Linked DNA regions of Homo sapiens: all the other regions are linked to region 1. Evidence: promoter capture Hi-C in 16 types of primary human blood cells and fetal thymus (Javierre and others, 2016). All regions are on one chromosome and are shown on one strand. The core of a region is centred on a gene start or on the middle of the fragment in contact, and the rest is flanking DNA. Distances in the headings are between cores, read along the strand shown.

Region 1 (2,700 bases), core at 110-2,609:
AGGAAATGGGAATACGGAATACATAAAGGAACTGTTTTTTGTTTAATGCTTCTAAAAATCTGCTTTAAGTCTATTTTCTTTTAAAAGTAAAGGCTAAGCCGGGCGTGGTGGCTCATGCGTGTAATCCCAAAACTTTGGGAGGCTGAGGTGGGTGGATCACCTGAGGTCAGGAGTTTGAGACCAGCCTGGCCAACATGGTGAAACCCCATCTCTACTAAAAATACCAAAATTAGCCAGGCATGGTGGCGGGCGCCTGTAATCCCAGCTACTCGAGCCCAAGGCAGGAGAATCGCTTGAACCTGGGAGGCAGAGGTTGCAATGAGCCAAGATCGCGCTACTGCACTCCAGCCTGGGCGATAGAGCGAGACTCCGTCAAAAAAAAAAAAAAAAAAAAAAAGTAATAATAAAAAAAATAAAGTAAAGGCTAGAGCTGCATGGAAAGAACTCTTGGCTCAGGTAGGACTTAGAGCCAGGGAGTAGGAAGAGTGGCATGCACTCTGGAGTCCTATGAGGAAGCAAGATCCCACAGGATATGGGACCATAGGTGACAGGGACCAGTGAGGAAGGATTGAGACCCCTTGCCCCATCGGCCTGCCACTTTTTTCATTGTTTTTCTCTTCCCCTCTCCTTCTCTTTCTTCTTTTCTTTTACTGTGTTCTTTTCGAGTATTCTCAACAACAGTCTAGGGGCCTGGAGGTGTGGGGAGGCCGCCCACGGATGCCTAGTTTGGCGCTCTGTGCACTGCTAGCATCTTCGTAGGGATGGGTTTGGGATGGGAGCGGGGTGATGCTCTGGTTCTCAGGGCTGGACTCCGGGCTTGGAGGGGAACTCCCTCTTGCGAGTCCCCAGTCCTGTGGGGGCTGGGCCTGGAAGGGGAACTGGGAGATGCGGAAGTGCACGCCGTCGGGTCGCATCTTTCAGTGCGGTGCGAGAGGGCCCAGTGGCAGAGGCCCAGCAAACAGCGCTTGTCAGGCGGACCTGAGTTCGAGTTCTGACTGTGCCATCTACGCTATGACTTTGGGGCAGGCGACCCACCCTCTGCGCCTCATTAACCCATGTACTGCATGGAAAATAAGCGTCTGCCTGGGTTAGAAGAGGGCTGTGTGTGAAGATTCAAAGGACGAAGGGGAAGAGTCCTCGCTGGGCGCCCAGCACGCGGTGAGCGCCCGGCCAGTGGCAGCGCGCTCGGGCTGGGGTTGCGCTCGGGCTCGGTTCCGCGCCCCCGGCAGCTGCGGGCTTTCCCAGCTCCGGCCCGGGCCCTTCCGCTCTCCCCGGCACTTACAGCGGTCTCTCTCCACTTCTCCCTTCTAGGACCGCGGCGGCTAGGTCACCTCCTCCGGACGCCGACACGCGCTGCCCTGGCAACCGTCACCAGGGAAACAAGCGACGTCACTTGCGCGTTTTCAACGCTACTCTACGGGGGCCGAGGGGGCGCCAAGAGTTCTGAAAGTGACAGAGGCGCTGATGGCGCGCTGGGCTGGATCCAAGCGAGCACGATCTCGAGTGCGCTGGAGATTTTAAATCTTCTGGAGTATATTTTTAAAAAAGTTTTGTGGACCAAACGTTCTGCACAGAGATGCCCATTCCGCTCTCCTGTTGGGGAGTTAAAAAGCGAACGATCTCACCATGAAATTTAAAGTAGCCATTCAGATATATTTGAAAAATGTAAAACAGTGTGGGGAAAGGCCATGTTATGATGGTGAGTGAAGGAAGCAGGACGCAATATAGCAATGCTAAATAAATAAAGTTGTGTTTATTTCAAACTAGGCACTAAAACAAGACCGAAATAGAAATATTAAAAGTGGTTATATTTGGGTGGTGGAATAGCAGTGCTGTGTTTTTATTTTTACACTTTAGAGAATTTTTAAAATAATGAACATCGTTTATTTTCATAAAGGAAAATACTTGTTTTTTTTTTTTTAAATGGCACCTTCCAATGTAAGACACTACTATATTTCAGGGCAATATGGGGGTGGGAGGCAAATTTCTAGGAAAGATGATTCAAGGGAGATTTCTTTCTATCTATCTATCTATCTAATCTATCTATCTATCTATGATAGAGTCTCGCTGTGTCGCCCAGGCTGGAGTGCAGTGGTGCGATCTCAGCTCATTGCAACCTCCATTTCCCAGGTTCAAGCGATTCTCCTGCCTCAGCCTCCTGAGTAGCTGGGATTACAGGCACCCGCCACCACACCTGGCTAATTTTTTTATTTTTAGTGGAGACGGGGTTTCACCATGTTGACCAGGCTGGTCTTGAACTCCTGACCTCAGGTGATCCGCCCACCTTGGCCTCCTAAAGTGCCGGGATTACAGGCGTGAGCCACAGCTCCTGCCCAAATATTTATCCAGGACTTCATAATTTGAAAACCTTGGCAGTTGTTTTTCTATTTTTTTTCCTCATAAGGTGAATGAATACCCATCCCATAGACATGCATACATAAGATACGGCACTAGACTGCCATCAGCACTGCAGGTATAAACCCGAAGTTTCCTGATAAAGGAAAAATGGATCTTTCCCGTTGGTCTCCAATTGCTGCCTGGTGAGCTGAGGGTGGGAGACGTATAATATACAGGTGGCAGCAAAGAGAGACAGGATAAAGAGTAGGATTCAGGTAGATGTGAGCCTCAAAGGATTAGGGTTTTTTTTAAATGGTGTGTGTAGTGGGGAGTATCATTCGTTTGCCTCATGACCACGATGGG
Region 2 (2,828 bases), core at 322-2,821, 110 kb after region 1:
CTAGGGCCCTTCAGAATTATGCTAAATCTACTCTGCCTGTACTCTATAAGTAGCAAGGCTAGGTGTGGTGGCTCGCGCCTGCAATCCCAGCAATTTTGAAGGCTAAGGCAAGTGGATTGCTTGAGCCCAGAGCTTGGAGCCCAGCCTGGGTAACATGGTGAAACCCTGTCTCTACAAAAATTAGCCAGGTATGGTGGTGCATGCCTGTGGTCCCAGCTACTTGGGAGGCTGAGGTGGGAGGATCACCTGAGCCTGGGAGGTTGAGGCTGCAGTGAGCCAAGATCATGTCACTGTACTTCAGCCTGGACGACAGAGTGAGACCCTGTCTCAAAACAAACAAAACAAAGCCTGGATGGCAGCTCATCTGTTTGCAGCATGGTTTACTTAGGCCCACTGCTGAGACTTACTGCTCACAAAAAAGATTCTTTTCAATGTATTACTACTCATTAACAATGCACCTGAGATCTCTGAGGAAGATGTTCGAAGAGATGAATGTTGTTTTCATGCCTGCTAACACAACATCCATTCTGCAACCCATGGATCAAGGAGTAATTTCAACTTTTCAGTCTTAGTATTCAGAAATACATTTCGTAAGGCTATAGCTGCTGTAGATGGCGATTCCTCTAATGGATCTGGGCAAAGTAAATTGAAAACCTTATGGAAAGAACTCACCATTTTAGAGCCACTAAGAACAATTGTGATTCATGGGAGGAGGTTAACATATCAACATGAACAAGAGTTTGAAAGAAGTTGATTCCAACCCTCATGAATGACTTTGAGGGGTTCAAGGCTTCAGTGGAGGAAGTCGCTGCAGATGGGTGGAAATAGAGAATTAGAATTAGAAGTAGTGCCAGAGGATGTGACTGAATTGCTGCAATCGCCTGATTGAACTTGAATGGATGAGGAGTAACTTCTTACGGATGAGCTAAGAAAGTGGTTTCTTGAGATGGAAACTAATCCTGGCGAGGATGCTGGGAACACTGTTGAAATGACAATAAAGAATTTAGAATATTACATAAAGTTAGTAAAGCAGCAGTAGAGTTTGAGAGCATTGACTCCAATTTTGAAAAAAAGTTCTATTGTGGGTAAAATGCTATCAAACAGCATTCCATGCTACAGAGAAATCTTTCCTAAAAGGAAGAGTCAACTGGTGCGGCAACCTTGATTGTTGTCTTATTTTAAGAAATTGTCACAGCCACCCCAGCCCTCAGCAACCACCACCCTGATCAGTCCAGGGTGAAGACAGGAATCACTGAAGGCTCAGATGATCATTAGCATTTTTTAGCAATAAAGTTTTTTTTAAAAATTAAGGTATATATATGTATTTTAGATATAATGCTTTTGCACACTTAATGGTGTATAGTCTAAACATAATTTTTATATTCCCCGGAAACAAAATTCGTGCGACTCATTTTACTATGGAGGTTTGAAACCCAACCCGCAATATCTTCGCGGTATGGCTGTAATTGTGACAAATGCTGCAAAGAAGAGCAGAGCATGAAGGGAGGTGGCAGTCAGGAAGGCCACACTGATTGGGCCACACTGATTCAGCGGAGGCCTGGAGGACCACAAGACCCAGTCAATGTGTGTTGTGTGTGGTGGAGGTGCTAGCGGCCGAAGAGGGGTGCTGGTCAGGGGATGCAGCAGGGTGGTCCCAAGGTACCGAGAGCATATCCACCCTGGGGCCAATGAGCCCAGGGCACTCGGAGAAGGGGGAAGAATCTCCACAGGGTGCAGAACCGGCAGGCTCTGTGCGGGTTAGGACTTTGACACATCGGTGGCACTGAACCCCTCTCACGCCAGCCGGCCCAGCCACGCTTGTGTCCGGGGCCAGCCCACGGGGGCCACGCAGGGCTGCCGGATGGACAGGCAGGGAATACGGGCTCTTCCTCGGGAGGAGACTGGCTTGCCCCTGGGAAGTCAGCCCACGGGACTGCCCTCCTCTCCCTCCCGAGGGGCTGGGGACCAGCAACTCAAGCCAACACCGGGAGCGGGCGGCACGTCCCCTCCTCGCCCCTTCGGTCCGGGAACTGTCAGGGGCCGGGGCGGGGTTACGATGGTGGGCTAGGGGGCCAGGTAGGACCAAAGACACACGGAGGCGGCCTCCGGGACAGCCAGAGGGCCCGCGGGCGCTCGGGAAAGGGGCGGGTGCACTTCCGGCCCCCGAAGCCTCAGCGAGGGAGTCTCCGGGAGGCGCGGCGGGGAGTAGGCAGTGTGTTGCTGACCTCTGGCGGTCGCTCTGCGGCACTTCGCACCTTCTTTGTGCTCAGGAGCGGTGAGTGTCAGTTCGGCGGCTGAGCCCCCAGTAAGGGCGTGGTTCCGGGCCAACGGGAGGACGTGCTGATGGCGCTGCTTTCTTCCTTCCCCACCGCAGCTGTTTCCGACTCGCGCGCTGAACCCACCACTACCCCTCGGCCCACGCCCCTGGCAGTTTTCACGGCATAAGCCCGGCAAGAGCATCATTTTGGTTGTCCTGGGGGGTTTTGGGGGTTAGCTCCTTTATTGCTAACCTCATTTGCACATTCCATGGTGGGCAGGACAGTGGATTGAGTTTTTTACACTGGGCCCTAGTAGTTCCATGTTCCTGTCTGATGTCATGACTTCTCATTCTATATATGGCCCAGAATTTTGAGCAACTGGGCACTGACCTGAGGATTCTATTTATCTGCTGTGGTTCCTTTACTGGGGTTCTCCGCTGTGGGTTCTCTAGTCCGGATGCACTAGCTCTTCCCTGAGTCTTGTTTGCCCCTTTTTCTAATTCTGGATGATATTGACTGCTCCCCCAGTATGTGCCACCTCTTGCTCACTGCCTCGCCCCCAGCAGTAAG
Region 3 (2,700 bases), core at 63-2,562, 130 kb after region 1:
CAAGTGTTGTTAGAAATCCCACAGGTAACAGTTGAGTGGTGCTCCACCCTCATCCCAGCCTCCTTACTGCCATTACCAGGAGAGGATGACTCAACACATTCATGTTGTGAGATACTTAACCAAATTTATGCCAGATGGGAAGACTTAAAGGATCAGCCCTTGGACAATCTGGTCAAAATATGGTTTTCAGATGGGAGCAGTTTTGTTCAGAATGAAACTATATATGCAGGGTACACAGAGGCTAAAGCTCTATCCTTGGGGACCTCAGGACAACTAGCAAAACTCATCTTTTAACCACAGGCCTAACACTAGGGGAAGGGAAAAGAATAACCATTTATACAGATTCCAAATATGCCTTTTTGGTGCTTCATGCCCAAGCCACTATCTGGAAGGAAAGGGAGTACCCAGCAACTTGGGATACTCCTACTAAGTAGGGGCCCCAAATCTTAGAGCTACTAGAGGCCATTCACTTGACCCAGGAGGTGGCAGTAGAGAGGGTTCTGGAAATGGCAGGCACTCATTGGGTAATGGTCAAGCTATCATAAAACTGTCCCTCTGAAATGAGAAGTGGCCATGACTGGGACCAAGACAGAGAGGAGTTCTGCAACAGATAGAAAACATCTGGAGCCAGCAAATCACAATTCCCTGATCAGGTTTTTGTTTGTTTTTGTTTTGTTTTGTTTTGTTTGGGGTGGAGTCTCACTCTGTCACCCAGGCTGGAGTACAGTGGCACGACCTCGGCTCACTGCAACCTCTGCCTCCCGGATTCAAGTGATTCTCCTGCCTCAGCCTCCCCAGTAGCTGAGATTACAGGCACCTGCCACCACACCTGGCTAATTTTTTAAAATTTTTAGTAGAGACAAGGTTTTGCCATGTTGGCCAGGCTGGTCTTGAACTCCTGACCTCAAATGATCCACCTGCCTTGGCCTCCCAAAGTGCTGGGCGTGAGCCACCGTGCCCAGCCCCTGATCTGGTCTTAAGCATGGGGCAAAAGTAGGGGGGGAAATGGTGGTGTTTGACTGGTATATGACCTTCCTCTGGAGGTGATCAACCAGTAAGGGAAAATCGCTCCAAGTGAGCATGCACACAACCTCAGTAAACACACTGTGCATGTGGCTTCTCCCAAGTACTAGCAGGCCACTGCACATGTCACAACTGAGCAACAGCCCACCCCAATGGAGGGATCAAGGGAGGAGAAGAAAAACCCCGGAACCAAAAGCCAGTTTATAAAAATCCTGAGCCAAAGGCTGAGGGGGGCACTTGATCTCTCAAGTTCCCTACTTGGCCCTCTTCCAAGTGTGATTTGCTTCTTTTAATAAACCTTTGCCTCTGCTTTAAAATTTGCCTCGGTCTTTCAGTTGAAATCTTTCCTCTGAGAAGACAAGGGTTGGGATCAGTGCGGATTCGCCACTGTTTGCAGACTCACTGTCAGTAACACTTTCACAAGGTTCAGGAGTGGGAGAAGGCCCTGACTGCAAGAGACATAAGCACATAATTAATTATTCTCTATTTTTTCCCCTCCTATGCTTAACCCTGGGAAACTGAACTACTGCAGTTTGACAGTAGGAAATAAGAGCCAGGGGGCGGGAGACTGACACCGTGTGTGTGTGTGTGTGTGTGTGTGTGTGTGTTGCCACCCAGCTGTGCTAATTGGATTTGGGCAATTATAGATAATGATTATAGTGATCATAAATCATAAATATGAGAAGGCAACTCCTAAGGTGGTCTTGGCATGGCTCACATTTCAGAGGGTAGGAGACATTCTAGGATGCTACAAATTATGTAAGAAAGGAACTACTGAACTAACTAGAGATGAGTCTGAGTGTATGGTGTGGGTAAGACACAGGAGAGTTGGGAAATAGGTGGAGTGATTGTTGCAGAGACTAGTCACATTGATCACGTAGCTGTGGAATGAGAGGAACGACAACCCTGATTGGTAAGAAGAGAACATCTTAGACTCTGGGTTGTCAGGGCAGAGGTGAACCGCCCAACAGGTTCTCCTTGCCTGCTGCCTAGACACAGCTGATTTATCAAGACATGGTAGTTGTAATAAAGAAAGGGTTTAATTCATAAAGAGCCAGCATATGGAAAACTGGGGTTTTTATTATTACTCAAATTACCCTGAAAACTTGGGGGTTGGGGTTTTAAGGATAATTTGGTGGGTAGGCGGTTGGAAAGTGGAGAGTCCTGATTGGCCGGGTCACAGATAAAATCATAGGGAGTTGAAGCTGTCCTCTTGTGTTGAGTCAGTTCCTGGGTGGGGGCCACAATACCAGATGGGCCAGTTTACCAGTCTGGGTGGTGCCAGCTGATCCACTGCGTGCAGGTTCTGCAAAACATCTCAAGCACTGATCTTAGGTTTTATAAGAGTGATATTATCCCCAGGAACAATTTGGGGAGGTTTAGAATCTTCCAGCCTCCAGCTGCATGACTCTTAAACCATAATTTCTAATCTTGTGGCTAATTTTTTAGTCCTGCAAGGGCAGTCTAGTCTCCAGGCAGGAAGGGGGTTTGTTTGGGAAAGGGCTGATACCATCTTTGTTTCAAAGTTAAATTATAAACTAAGTTCCTCCCAAAGTTAGTTTGGCCTGTGCCCAGGAATGAACAATGACAGCTTGGAGGTTAAAAGCAAGATGGAGTCGGTTAATTCAGATCTCTTTCACCGTCATAATTTTCTCAGTTATAATTTTTGCAAAGGTG

The links. Contacts are between HindIII fragments. The CHiCAGO score rates a contact against its expected background, and 5 or more counts as called.
Region 2: a fragment that was not itself captured here is called in contact with the fragment with the promoter of CCDC13 in region 1 in 15 of 17 cell types (erythroblasts, total B cells, megakaryocytes and 12 more); the score reaches 16.8 in erythroblasts.
Region 3: a contact is called between a fragment that was not itself captured here and the fragment with the promoter of CCDC13 in region 1, in 1 of 17 cell types (erythroblasts). The highest score is 5.9, in erythroblasts.

What each region holds. Positions count from the first base shown.
Region 1 is chr3:42,771,894-42,774,593 of GRCh38, forward strand. CCDC13 (coiled-coil domain containing 13) reads right to left here and starts at 1,360. Exons shown (of 16, transcript NM_144719.4): 1 at 1,283-1,360. CCDC13-AS2 (CCDC13 antisense RNA 2) reads left to right here. Exons shown (of 2, transcript NR_122070.1): 2 at 1,312-1,742. RefSeq lists a silencer at 1,081-1,240 and an enhancer at 1,371-1,540. The HindIII fragment of the contact is 4,325 bases long and covers 1-2,700 here.
Region 2 is chr3:42,878,931-42,881,758 of GRCh38, forward strand. No RefSeq gene overlaps it. Among named protein-coding and RNA genes, the nearest start is that of CYP8B1, 4.5 kb to the left of the region's middle. RefSeq lists an enhancer at 2,047-2,341 and a silencer at 2,380-2,429. The HindIII fragment of the contact is 4,409 bases long and covers 1-2,828 here.
Region 3 is chr3:42,898,997-42,901,696 of GRCh38, forward strand. No RefSeq gene overlaps it. Among named protein-coding and RNA genes, the nearest start is that of ZNF662, 5.8 kb to the right of the region's middle. The HindIII fragment of the contact is 8,974 bases long and covers 1-2,700 here.